Linked DNA regions of Homo sapiens: region 2 is linked to region 1. The links are contacts of gene promoters, found by promoter capture Hi-C in blood cells and fetal thymus (Javierre and others, 2016). All regions are on one chromosome and are shown on one strand. Each heading gives the region's core, a stretch centred on a gene start or on the middle of the fragment in contact. The rest is flanking DNA. Distances are from core to core; before and after follow the strand shown.

Region 1 (6,767 bases), core at 1,075-3,574:
ACATTTTGCGGTGGGTAGGGAGCTGGACTGTTTGAGCCACCCACATCTGAATGTGGGACCTACAGGGCACAGAGGAGCTCCTGGTATCGGGACCTGAGGATCAACGCCTCCTTACAACATTCTGCAAAATAATTCCTCAACAAAAGGTTGGTGATTATTTCCAAAATGAAGAAGTAGCTACTAGAAACCAGTGTGGATTCACTTAGAGAAAGTCACTGAGAACTAGAATGCGGATGGACAGCTCAAAAAATAGAGACAAAAGGAGAGTTTGAGCAGAGGGAGAAACAAACTTGTCTAGGACAGTGCTTAAGATACTATCTATTTGGAAGGAAGCAGGACCCAAAGAAGGTAGGACTCTAAGGGGTCTTCAAGGCTGGGAGATTCTGGACAAGCTGAACTGTTTCTAGGCGAAAACCCCAATGCGGGTGGGAGTCTTGCTCTCAAGGAGTAGGTGGTCCTACAGCACCTGGGTGGGCCAGCGTGGTTCTGGGCTTGAGTCCACCCTCCACCTAAGGCCACTGTTCCTTCCCTCACCTCTCCTTTCTCAGATCAATCCCTGTCACGTGATCCCAGACGCCAAGAGTTTACTCCAGAAGCTTCCTTTCAACTGGTCACCAGCTCCTTATCCACTGAAATCCTACCCATCCTCCACGTGCATTATTATGGGCTTTGTGTGGCATGAAAGGGACCTCTGCTAAACTACTTTATTAAGAAAATATTAGTCTTTTACTCATGGACAACAAGGTGCATGGTTTTCTTACAGTTCTGATGGGGCCAGGAAACCCTGTGTAAGGTCTTCACACTATGTGGTGGGAGGTGGCGACTGTGCGCTGCTCACTCCAGCCCAGCTTCTTACTGACAAGTGGCTGGAATATGTGGGGCTGTCCTTGGACTCCTGCCAGGGGAGCTGAAACTCTTTGCTTGAGAGGAGCTGATGGTAAGAGGAGCCGGATCCCTCATCCACTGCCCACCCGCAGGATGAAGTCCAGGCATGCAAACCCCTTCTTAGTCTCTCTCTGCAGACTCCTTTCCCACTGCCTCCAAACCAAAACCATCTTCTCCAGGCTCATGGACTCCTTTCTGTGCCTGCACACGCCCTGCACTGTCCCGTCTCTCTGCGCCTTTGCCCAGGCACTCCTCCCTCCCTGAAAGCACCACCGGTCTAGCTGGGCCTGAAATCCTAGCCTTCCCTAAAAGCCCGGCTCAAATCACAGAGGCGCAGAGCATCAGGCCAGGAGGGGTGGACAGCGGTACCAAGAGGCCCCCTGACACTCCTTCCCCCGGAGCCCACCGCAAGCTTCCACCTGGGCGCCAGCACTCACCCCTTTCTGTTTTGCACGATTATTGCCCGCGTACCTGCCTGCCTGGTCCTTGAACACACAGCCACTGTGTGTCTTTTCACACTTTCCAGCTGGGTAAGCCTGGGCAAGTTAAGTTCTCTAGGCCCCGGGTTTTTCTTTTGTATGACAGAGATTAACACCAGTACCCATCCCACAGGCTTGCTGTGAGGACAGACTAACGCCTCAACAGGGCTTGTGGAAGTGCGTGGCTCTATATTCCCTTCCGCGCCGACCCCGGGAAGCTGGGCACGTAGTGGGAGTCGGTGTATGCGGATTCGAAGCCGGACACCTCCCAGGTGCCACCAGGCCGCTGCGGGGGAGATGGAGAGGGACCTACAGGCCGAGCGCCAGGCAGAGAAAGGAGCCGCGGGTGGGGGGGCACCCAGAAGGAGGGGACAGCGGCTGGGGCGGGGGCAGGAAGCCCCGGAGGGCCCAAAGAACTTGGCGTGGGGCGGCCCGGGGCGGGGACAACCGTTCCGCCAGCGCTCGGGTTCGGCTCGGAGTGGGGGCCCGGCCGACGGGCGCAGTAGGCCCCGGCGGACCCCGCGCCCCATTCGCGGGAGCCCCAGGCCCGGTGGTCCGGCCCGGACCCCGGAACCCCTCCCCAGGGCCTGCGGCGCCGTGTGCCGGGGCCGGGCCGCCTGGGGCCCCCAGGCCGCGAGTCCCTGCGCGCGCGGGTCGCCCTTACCGGAGCCGCGACCGCCTCGGCCATGGCCCTGCGCTGTCCCGCCCGGCCCGGAGGAAGTCGTCGTCGCCGCCGCCGCGCGCGGCACCACGCAGGCCCGGCCGCCCGGTGCTCTCCGCAGGCGGCGCCTGCCTGGCCTTTCCTCTGCCGCCGCTCCTCGCTGGCTGCCCCTGCGCCGCGCCGCCCGCAGTCGCGCCGCCTCCGTCAGCGCCCGGCCGGTCCACACTGCATCCTGGGAGCCGGCGCCGCGGCCCGGCAGACGAAGGCCCGTGAGGCTTCCTGGAGGCAGCGCGGCCGCACAGCCCCACCTGCAGCCTGAGAGGCGAACGGCAGGCGCTGCGCCCGCCTGCCCGCGGCCCCGCCCCGCCCCGCCCAGCCCCGCCCGCGGGGCCCGACGGGAGGACCTAGCGACCCCGGGCCGACCCCGCGACCCCGCGACCCCGCGACCCCGGCCGGACTGCCGAGCGCGGGGGGAGTCACTGCGCTGGCCCCGCGGCCCAGCCCGAGGACTCGGTTATTGAAAGGGTCCCCCTCATGGGACCCGCCTGGCCGCGCCCGCGGGCGAGCACGGGCTTCCGGGCAGGGCGTCCCCCGGGTGACCGCGGCCAGGGCGGCCCCCTCGCCCTGGGATGCCCGGCTCCCCTTCCCCCGCCCCACGGGCACTTCTGCTGCCCGAGGTCCTGGGTCTGGAGGTTTAGGCTATTTTGGGGAGGACAGATGTAACTCATGCCCACCTGTGTTTGAAATGGAATAAATACTTCCAACAACAGGAATATAGTTCGGTAAACCCCGGTAGGCAACCACTTAGCATTTTCTGTAATGGGTTTATTACAGTAAATTTTTTTAATGGCATGAGCAATGGGACGCAATACCATCATTTAAAATGATTTCGGTGAAGGTCTTGGTAGGAACAGATGTTCATGATGTTTTAAGAGAAAAAGCCTGTCCAGGACGATCCTGTCTTTGTTTTAAAAATAACATTTTAAAACAATATAGGACATATGTAGCGTCATATACTGCGTACATGTATAATTACAGTTTTGAAAAGTTTGGAAGCATATATATCAACATGGCCTCAGTAGTTCTATTAAAGGTCTATTCCTTTAATAGACCACGGGCCGTTTTTATGCCTTTTCTAATTTTTTCCAATTCATGTTTTTATTTTTCCATGACAAGGATAGTATTTTTAAACAAGGAGAGAAAAATAAAAATTTAAATGTTCTCAAAGAGGCCAACCAGAGCAGGGGAAGGAGGGCGCCTTGGACGGGCCCCCACGTAGTTTCAGAGGCTCATTGCCTTTCAGGAACACGACTTGCTCATCTGTGTATTCCCCAAGACTAACTAGCCAACTGCCTAGCACACACTGATAAGAAAATATGTGAGAGATCTGTAATCTTTTTCAAAGAAGGCAGACCTTACAGAATAGATAAAATTTGAGCTGGATCTTGAAGAATTGGCAAAATATTGATAGGCAGAGAGCATTTCAGACCAGAGGGTGGTAGTAGAGGTGTGAGCTGGATGACAGCCCAAAAAAAAATTGATGTAGGAAGATATAAAGCATTTTAGGGCCGGGCGCAGTGGCTCACGCCCGTAATTCTAACACTTTGGGAGGCCAAGATGGGTGGATTGCCTGAGCTCAGGAGTTTGATACCAGCCTGAGCAACATGACAAAACCCCGTCTCTACTAAAAATAGAAAAAATTAGCGAGGCGTGGTGGCACGCACCTGTAATCCCAACTACTGGGGAGGCTGAGGTACGAGAATCGCTTGAACCCGGGAGGCAGAGGTTGCAGTGAGTGGAGATCACACCACTGGGTGACAGAAATACAGTGCATTAGAAATAAAGAGACATTTTTAGTGTGCAATTTAAAAAGTTCCCTTTTGACAGGCTGAGTCGGATATGCCAGGGTCATCTCTAGGTAGTAATTTCCAAGCCTGGCTCTCAGAGCAGCTGCATCAGTCTCTGGGGAAGCTTGTGAAGGATATGGATTTCTGGATCCCATCTCATATCTACTGAATCAAAATGTCTTTGGGATGGGTCCTGAGTAATGTGGAGAAAACTTATTTTAAAAGAAGGTCTCTTTTTAACAAGTTCCTTGTAGGGGTTGAGGTAAGGGTGAAGCTGGGGCTCTGCAGACAGCCAAGTTAGGGTAATGATGACTTGCTCTGTCCTCCACTGAAGACAGGCATCTATTGCAGAGCATCTCTGGTGCTGGTTTTCCAGCCTCTATTTGTAAAAAGAACGAAGATAAACCTCCTTGGATTGATATATGAGGCTTCCAAAGCCTTTCCCTCCATTTTGGGCACAGGTGTCAAAAGCAGGCATGAGAGTTTCCACTCCTGTGCCTTTCCTCATGCTTTTCCCCTCTCCTCTTGCCCACCCGAAGTTCTCACACCTTTTCCAGACCAGCATATGCCCTAATTCTTCCAGTTAAGTCTCTCCATGCCAATCACGGCTGCAGCAAGCTCTGCATTGTCCCAACTCTAATAATTTTTATTCTCGGTGCCATTCATATGGCACTGAGAAAAAAATTACAATACAAGGTAGTAGTTCCTAACTCACCTCTTGGATTATAAGTTCCCTGAGAGCAGGGACTATATCTTATTTCTCTTGTCTCTCCTGCAGTGCCTAATACTGGGCAGGTTTAGGCAACATAAAGTAATGATTTAGTACAAGTCTTAATTGATTGCTCTGTGTGGTGTGATCAACTGTGGTCCAAAGAATCATCCCCTCCTCTGCTCTAATACTTCTGCAGCCCCTACCATCTCCACCTTCCTGCTGAGTATTCCTAGAAGAAAAATCATAAAGCATTTTCAACACACCCAGAAGGAGCCTGGAAGGGCTAGAGAACATGAGACCACATGTCAACTCAAGGTGTCAGGGAGGCAGGAAGTGTGTGGTTCATACTGCACATAGACTGTGTAGATGTAGGGACTATGGACCCATGCACCCCTATGAGTGCTTCCTATACTCCAGCAGGTACAGCAGAACAGGTGGACCTCTATTTTTCCAGCTGCTCCCTTAGGCCTGAGCTTTTCCCCTGGGACCAGGCACACAGCCTAAAAGTTCAGGCTTGGGGTTTTCAAAAAGACTGTGGTAATCATTGCTGCCCACTAAATATTTCCAGCTGGTTTCTCTTGAAGACCATGGCTGGATGGCACTTCCTGGTTTCTTCTGGCTGGGTTGGACCATGTGACAAGTTCTGGCTGATGTTTTTTCTTTCCCTCTACTATGGTAACCCAGCAATATTTGAGGAGGTGGGTGCTGTATTTGCCTGCATCCTGGAGGTGGGGGACATTGAGTAGACTCCCCAGCCATCCCATGATGAGCTACTTACAGCATGAACATGAAACTTTTTGTTGTAACATGGTTTGGGGGTTGCTTGTTCCACAGTTTAACCTAGCCTATCCTGACAGATACAAAGGCATGGTGAAAGTTGGCCAGGCATTGCAGCAGGCATCCTTGGGCTCCAGGTGGTGTCTGCTCGAGCTTAACTTCCCTTACATTGTCTGAGTGCTCTCACATTGAGCGTTACCCTGCAGCGGTTAGATGTGGTGAAGTGCTGGAGAACTTGCAGCTGGCCCTGGAGTCTCTCCCATGGAGCCAGTGCCAAGTTCCTGCCTCAAATCCCTCAGTGAAATTTGCAGATGCGGATGGTCAGGGCCATGGCTCTGAGAAGCTACCTCCTTTCCTTCTGCTGGGAGCTGGGAGACTCACAGTCCTCTGGGGTTGGCTGGCTGGAGGCCAGTGCCTCAAAAATATTCTATACCAGAGCCCTTGAGTACAGAGAAAAGTGAATGTATGTCCTGTGGGTCTGGACGCTGCCTGAAATGGCCCTTGGTGAGCCAGAAGGTGTGATAAATTGTCATACTTTAACAATCCATTAAATCTTGTCTCCTTTATAAAACTTCTGTGCTTGTTTTAATTTTAAAAGATTATTTTGATTTATTGACCAGAGTAAAAAATTTATTTGATGTTTCAAAACCCCTCTCTTGCTCCTGAAATGGGAACAATTCCCTCATCCGCCTCTCAGGGTGTGAGATGGGGGCTGCAGCTCACTTTGTCAGTGCCCCGCTGCTCAAACCTCTAGCGGGAGCATGTAGGCAGGCAGGCTGTGGGGCTTATCACAAGGACAGAGGGCTTTCTGTATCCTGGGGTTCTTGCCTTAGTGTGCCAGAAAAATTAGATCACGCGTGGGCTTGGGGGATGGGTGCAAGGCTTTTTATTAAGTGGTGGCAGCTCTCAGTGAGGTGGATGGAGAGGCCAGAAGGAGGATGGAGTGGGAAGGTGGCCTTTCCCTGGAGTCAGGCCACCCAGTGGCCGGGCCCTCCTCCGACTGGCCTCTGCTGAACTCCGTGTCGTCCCGTCATAGATGGCCTGCCGGCGTCTGCTGGTGTCTGCCCGTGTGTTCTTCTGCTGTTGAGTTCCTCTCGATGTCCAGCTGCTCGTGTCCGTGCCCACTAGGGTCTCAGGATGTTTAAAGGCACAGGATGGGGTGTGTGGCAGGCCAGGGTGGTCTTGGAAATGCCACATTTAGCCACAGAAACAGAAATACCTGTCCTCACCTAGGTCAGTGGGCACAGGCCTGAGGGTAGAGCCTTTGCCAGGGACCCTGCCTTTCTCTACCCAGCACTTTCCTGCCTCCCTCCTGTATCACTCCCACATCCCTCCTCACCCTGGACCTCCCTTTCAGGGGGTCCGTGCCTCCGTCTGAGAAGCATAGCTCCAGGCATCTCAGGTGT
Region 2 (6,767 bases), core at 1,522-4,021, 71 kb before region 1:
TCTAAAATATATTACAGATTTAGTTCTACAGAGAAGGGATGAACTCTTCCAAGTAATTTCACAGGTGGAGATGGTTAGAAGTCCTCATACTGGGTGGTTAAAATTGATTTCTTCCATAGTTATGGAAAAGACTTGATACCTTCTCTTGGAGAAATAAGGGACTCATTCAATTGTAAGTTTTTATTGTTTAGAACATAGAAATTCCTTCTACAACCAGAAAAAAACGCTATTTTCATTTGGGGGCAAAGAATTTTAAATAAGATTCTGGAATTCTGTTATGTGATTACTACATACTAATAAGAGTTCATCTTTTTGGTAAAATGAACACCCAAGCATGTTTGTATGCAATTAACGTTTGTTTCAAGACTCTGAAGAGCTGGCAACAATTTGGGCAAGGAAAATGTGTCTATTTCTCTCAATTTGTCTACTGTATGAATTAAACACACCAGAGACTGGCTTAAATTGGTCTGAATATTGACTTGCTTTTTTAGCAGCACTCTGAAACATTTGAGGTTTTTTTTTTTTCCCAAACTTATTTCAGAATGCATCACTGGATAAATTGGCTTGGTAAGGCATTGATTAATTCAAGACACAGTAAGGAACCACTGGGTTAAAGTGGGAAAGAAATAATACAAATTTTAGTTGGACAGTCATTATTATTAAATTGTTCAGGGGGTAACTATGGGAACCAACTTAGTGTCTTTACTTTTTGACAAAATTAATGTGATTTATAGTGATGACTATCATCCAAATCGAAAAATATATACAGAATTTTTTTTAAGAGACAGATTCTCACTATGTTGCTCAGGGTGGTCTCAAACTCCTGGGCTCAAGCGATCCTCCTCCTTAGACCTCCCGAAGTGCTGGGATTACAGGTGTGAACCACCACACCTAGCAGAAATTTTTTTGTATACGCCAGACGCGGTGGTTCACACCTATAATCCCAGCACTTTGGGAGGCCTATGGAGGATTGCTTGAGTCCAGGAGTTTGGGACCAGCCTAGACAACGTAGTGAGATGAGACCATGTCTCTACTAAAAATAAGAAAATTAGGCTTGGTGGCTCATGCCTGTGGTCCCAGCTACTCAGGAGGCTGAGGCGGGAGGATCACCTGAATGTGGGAGGTCCAGGCTGTAGTGAGCCATGATGTCACCATCGTACTCCAGCCTGAGACAGAGCAAGACCCTGTCTCAAAAATAAATAAATAAATTTTTTTAATCTTAAATTTTAGAATTTGCATAATTTACCTGCAGCAAATTTGATCATGGGACCATGTAGTTCTTGGCTGGTACCTTCTGTGGAAAAATGGCAAGTTTCACCTTTCATACTTGTTTACTTTTCTTAATTGAGTTTAGCTTAAATCCAAGCTATTTCAATCCTTTGAGGGCATAATTTGATTATTTGTGTATCAGGTAAATGAAGAGCTGATTGCATTTAATTTTTAAAAAGATTTTATACTTATTAGACTATACTGATTTTAAGAAGAAACAGTCTGTTGTCCTGATAATCATTCTTTAAATAAAATTACCAGCAGGGATAGACATTTTCACTGATACATTTTGTCATTAAAATTCAACTTTCCATTACCTGAATTAATAGACAGCAGTGATGCTCCTGTCTTATAATACTTGAGTTATTTTGAGATATTATTTTACAAAGAGAAGCAGTGAGTTTCATTCATGCGGTAGTGGCGGGGAGGGAATGGTGAGAACTTAGAGGTAGCACTGAGCCGGCAGGATTAGAGTCAAGGGTGTATTTTGTGTTATTAGGGAGCAGGTATTTCTTCCTTATAATAATCTCCTTCATGCAACTACTCCTCTGACTGATAAACAAATGGCTTCTTAGGTCCCAACGTCAGAAATAAACAGAGAAAGGTGGCCTCTTGCCATAACAGTGCTCTCCCCAAAGTCCCTAAGGTATAGAGGACTCAGTCTAAAACGGGGGCTGGATTGGTGTTCTAACCACCAGTGTGCCCAGGAACACCTATTCTACCCTGGTCAGGTGAACCTCAGGACGTCTCCCAATGTCGCCTGGGCTTGGCTGGCCAGGCAGCCAGGGAACTGTGCTTTCAGGCAGGTCCAGACTCACATGCTGTGCCCATAGACAGTGAGAGCTGCAAATCAAAGAGAAATAGTCATGTTTTGCCCTTTTTATTAAGGATCCATGTTGAAATTGGGAGGCAGTATGTAACAGTGGTTAATAGCACACAGCTGGGGTTCCCACCCACTTAGGTTTAAATTCTGGCCGTGTGACCTTGGCTGCTGATGGCTGAACCTCTCTGAACTTCATCTGTTCAAGGGGACACAGATACCAATTTCACAGGTTGTTGCAAGATAAAATGAAAGGAAAGCGTTTATGATCTGGCACAGTGACTGCAACATGGTAAAACTCAATGAATTGTAGTGATTTTAGTTATTATCCTTAATAAACTTATGGCTAGTTCTGACTTCTGAACAGAACTTTTCATGTAAGGTTGCGATCAATAGTACTATGTTTAATGTTTTCTTTTCTTTCTTTCTATCCTGGTCTTTTCCCCTTTTTTCCTTCCTTTCACCTTCCTTTTCTTTCTTTTTTTTAGAGAAATCATTTAACCTGGAGCTGTCCTTTGTAGAAAACAGAAATAAAAGGGCTAAAGTCTATATTTTAACTAAAATTCCTCATTTCAAGGAAACCAACTAGAAATGGTAGATGCAAAGTTGATTTTTTTTTTTTTTTTTTTTTACAAATTGTCATCTAGAAGTTGCCAGTATGACTGGGAAGCAACAAGAGGCTTCAGCAGCAGTAATGCTTTCCAGAGCGCTGGAGGAGAGGCCCTGGCCTGACTCAATGTTGCCCTGGCAACAGTAGGGCCTGGAGGGCCTCTGTCCCTGATCCCTTAATCTGAGGAGCTGCCACCACAGTGCTTCAGGAAAGGTCTCCCACAGACACCTGGCTGGTTCAGGCTACATCCACTGAAGAGGAATGAAGAAAAGCTGGGGATGCGGTCCTTTATCAGAGACAGCCGCCTAAAGGCCTCTCTGATGGTCCCAGCTTTCCAGATCCCCAGAGGCTTAACCAGGCTGCCAGTCTCCACCAGATGCTAAGTGCTGTCTAGGCAGCCAGGGATTCCTAATCCTCTTGTGTTTCTCCACAGAGCCCAGCACAATTCTTTGCACACAAGTGGTGATTAATAAATACTGGGGGGGGGGTGCAGGGCTGTAAGACAGTGAGCATCCCCTCGGCACCAGCCCTGCCTGTCCCACCTGTGACCTTGGAGGACCCAACTCCTCTCCTCTTCATTTCTCAGCTATAAAATGCTAGGGCTCAGCGCTAAGGGTTTTTTCCTGCCTCAAACATTCTTTTTTATCCTCTTACTGTGTTCATCATTTTGGCAAATGCACAGAGCATGTTCTGTTTAATATATTTTGTTTCCCCCAATTTTATCTTCAGTCAAAAAATCCGGAGGCAAAATGGAATAATTTAAAAGAGGTGCTGGCTTTTCTTTTTTCAACAACGATACTGGCCCCAGGAAAACAACTTTTTGGCCAAGCACATGGGCTTTGGAGTCAAAGAACTGAGTTCAAATCCTGGCTCTACTATTTGGTTGCTGTGTGACTTTGGGCCTACTTAACCTCCCTGAGCCTGGAGCTTTCCACCTATAAAATGGGTGTAATGAAACATACATCAGAGTTATGAAGGGATGTATGTAAAGTCTTCCAAAGTAAGAAGCTCTCAATAAATGGTAGTTATTCCTTCTGCTACACAGCTTTATGGGGCCAACAGCAACAGGCAACTTAGGAGTTCACAAGTCTAATTAAATTAAGGGCACCCAAGAAAAGCACTGTGAAAGAGGACCAGAAAACTCAGCGAGGTGGGGTACTACCTCCTGCAAACTCTGGAGTGTGGCCAAGGGGTGAACTGAAACCCTGTCCACTCCTAGATAAGGACCATGATATAGTTGTGGTTTAATTTGTACTTTCTCACACCAAAATAATCTACATTTGCCTACTGAAATTTCCTTCTCAAAGATTCATTCTTTTAGGATATAACACTAGCCCACTACCAACTTGAACTTCTGTTTGAAATTAGTAATCTCTTATTGAGACCTTAGTATCTGCCAGTGTCTTTGCTATGTATCTATTGTGATTTAAGCCTCAGAACAATGGGAACTTTATTATCCCTATTTGACAGATGAGGAAATTGATGTTCTGTTAATTAACTTGTTCAAGGCCATACAACTATGAAGTTTAAAGCCACGTCTTTTTGACACCAAAGGCTATCTACACTTTAGGAACCAATAGCAGAGATTAGGGCAAATGGAAAGTGAGATTCAAGATGGTGGCAAGAAGTCAGAACAAGGGGAGAGACGATGGGGGGCACAGGGTGCTGGGCACTTAGGAAGAGGCATGAGGAGGGAGTCAGAGCCAAGGAAGGGGAGGTAGAAGTCAGGGAAGTCATGGCAGCCCAGCTACGTGTAAGATGAACCAATCTTGACATACTATGACGTGTTCTGAAAGACTTTAAATGGTATCCCAATAGACAGAGACGTAAGGATGCACGAACCAGGCTGTTCTAGTTGGTGCAATAAATTGTCAGTTAAAAGAAAAAGAAATACCAATCTTTGACTATATTTGGTTTAATCCTTTTAAAAAACAAATTTCAGATGGGAGCTATGGCTCATACCTGTAATCCCAGCACTTTGGGAGGCTGAGGTGGGAAGATGGCTTAAGGCCAGGAGTTTTGAGACCAGCCTGGGCAACACAGAAAGACTCCCCCATCTCCAAAAAAGTTAAAAAAAAAATTAGCTGGGTGTGGTGGTGCACACCTGTAGTCCCCCAGCTACTCGAGAGGCTGAGGCAGGAGGACTGCTTGAGCCTAAGAGGTTGAGGTCAGAGTGAGCCATGATGGTGCCACCACATGCCAGCCTAGGTGACAGTGCAAGACCCTGTCTCAGAAAACAAGCAAAACGAAACAAAAACCACCCAGATTTCCTAGAAAAAGAAAGCCTCTCAAGCACCATTCTCATTTGACCCCATAATGTCCTGCTAACTTCATGTAACAAATGAAGTTCCTCTCTGAGTCTCCCACATGGATTCTACCCCACAGCACCTCCGTCTCCACTCAGGGTGGATATTTCCAGCACTCTTTGGTCCTCCAATTCCAGAGCTAGTAAAAATTTAGGGCAGCAACAGCCCTCTACCAAATACCTCCCCAAATTCCTCCACTAACAACTCTTTGAGACTTCAAATATCCTCACGTTCAAAAGAACCATTTCCCCTGCCATCCCTTCAACCTCCACCCACGGGTTCTGTTATCTGCAACCCGTCCGTGGAACTGAGCTGGTTCTCCCACACCTGACTGTTAGATTTCTTTGCCTTCTACCAGATTCAGTCCCTGGATAGCTATTTGTATCATCTCTCTCTCCTACTCAGCAATCTTCAATGGTTTTTCCTACAAGATCCAATTCAAAGTCTGCAGCCTTGAAGTCTTAGATCCTTTCTGCACCCCTAGTCTACTCCAAACCAACATTTGGCCCTGTTTTTCCTAGACAGGCCCTTTCATCCAGCTGAGGTTTAATCCATCACTGCTTACATCCTGATCTTACATGCAGCCTACTCTCCACACTTTTCCTTTTATGACCACCCCCACCAAGAAAGCTTTCCTCATTTTTCTCATGTATGGAAATCCTCTCCATCCCGCAGGCCCAGCTCAGATTCCACCTCCTGGGGGAAGCTGTCCTCCTGCAGGCCCCCTCTGCCTGGCAACTGGTGAAGCTGGCTGCACACTACGGAACTACCTGCCCACGTATCTGCACCAGCCTCGCAGCTGATGCTTCAGGTCTTGGTGGAAACTGCCCCTCAGTCCTTTACACCAGCCCAGACCTCTGCTCCCTCCTCTGGCCACCATCCCTATATGTCCTATCATCGACTTAGAAATTCAGTCTAAATGGAGAAGCTTCACATGTGAGATCTTGTGCTATCAATCACTTCCCCTTTCTGTGCTTAGCTTACAAACTCTTTATACAAAGCAGAGGGAGTTGATGATCTCTATGGTCTCCTGAAAGTCAAGAGTGTATCACCTTCTTCCTCCAAATCCCCTTTTTTGAACCCCCTTCAAGTATCTTGTCACAACTTGACAGGCCTGGCTTCAGCAGTGCTCTCCTCTCAGGCCAGTCTCTCTGCTTTCAGCCCAGCTTCCCCAGTGTGCGAGGCTGAGCTGTGCACTCTGCTAGCCTCCATGAATTATCCCTTCGAATGGCCTGAATTCTCTCTGGGCCACTGCCAAACCCATCAGCAGAGTAAATCGCTCTGTGGGCAACGTAATAAATATTCCTGCAGTTTCTCTTTCTATAAGAGAGAGCTGGAGGGAGATGGGAAATGAATGAATACCTAGAGAAACCAGGGTTCGTCAGTGCGTTCAGCAAGTCCAGAGTAGCTTTGGTGCAACATTCAAATAAAAAATGTTCTGACTGGTGCCTTTTGTGGCTTCCGCAAAGACTGGCACCAGGGGCCTCTGCACCTCTTCCCTAGGCTTCCCTCCCGCCACCCTACTCCTCAGCCAGCTGCATTTCAAGCTACGCAGGAACGCCTGGGCACTGAAGGCAGCGCCCAGCTTTTGCTACAGGACCTTCTTTCCAGCTCATTCCAAACCTGACCGTCACTCTCCTTGACCACGCTAGTCAACTGGGACCTATTCAGTCCTGAGCTCCCAGCAACCTCATGGACTCCAGGGCAGACGCGATGGTCTGGGGTTCCCGTGGTCCCTTAGACGTCAGTCCTGCCTCTCCTC

The links. Contacts are between HindIII fragments. The CHiCAGO score rates a contact against its expected background, and 5 or more counts as called.
Region 2: a contact is called between a fragment that was not itself captured here and the fragment with the promoter of ZNF746 in region 1, in 3 of 17 cell types (neutrophils, monocytes and naive CD8 T cells). The highest score is 9.5, in neutrophils.

The regions. Positions count from the first base shown.
Region 1 is chr7:149,495,485-149,502,251 of GRCh38, forward strand. ZNF746 (zinc finger protein 746) reads right to left here and starts at 2,325. Exons shown (of 7, transcript NM_001394198.1): 1 at 2,029-2,325. The coding sequence starts at 2,052. RefSeq lists an enhancer at 643-1,586 and silencers at 1,720-1,779, 2,020-2,689. The HindIII fragment of the contact is 2,699 bases long and covers 1,296-3,994 here.
Region 2 is chr7:149,424,429-149,431,195 of GRCh38, forward strand. No RefSeq gene overlaps it. Among named protein-coding and RNA genes, the nearest start is that of TRC-GCA11-1, 13 kb to the left of the region's middle. The HindIII fragment of the contact is 5,723 bases long and covers 1-5,633 here.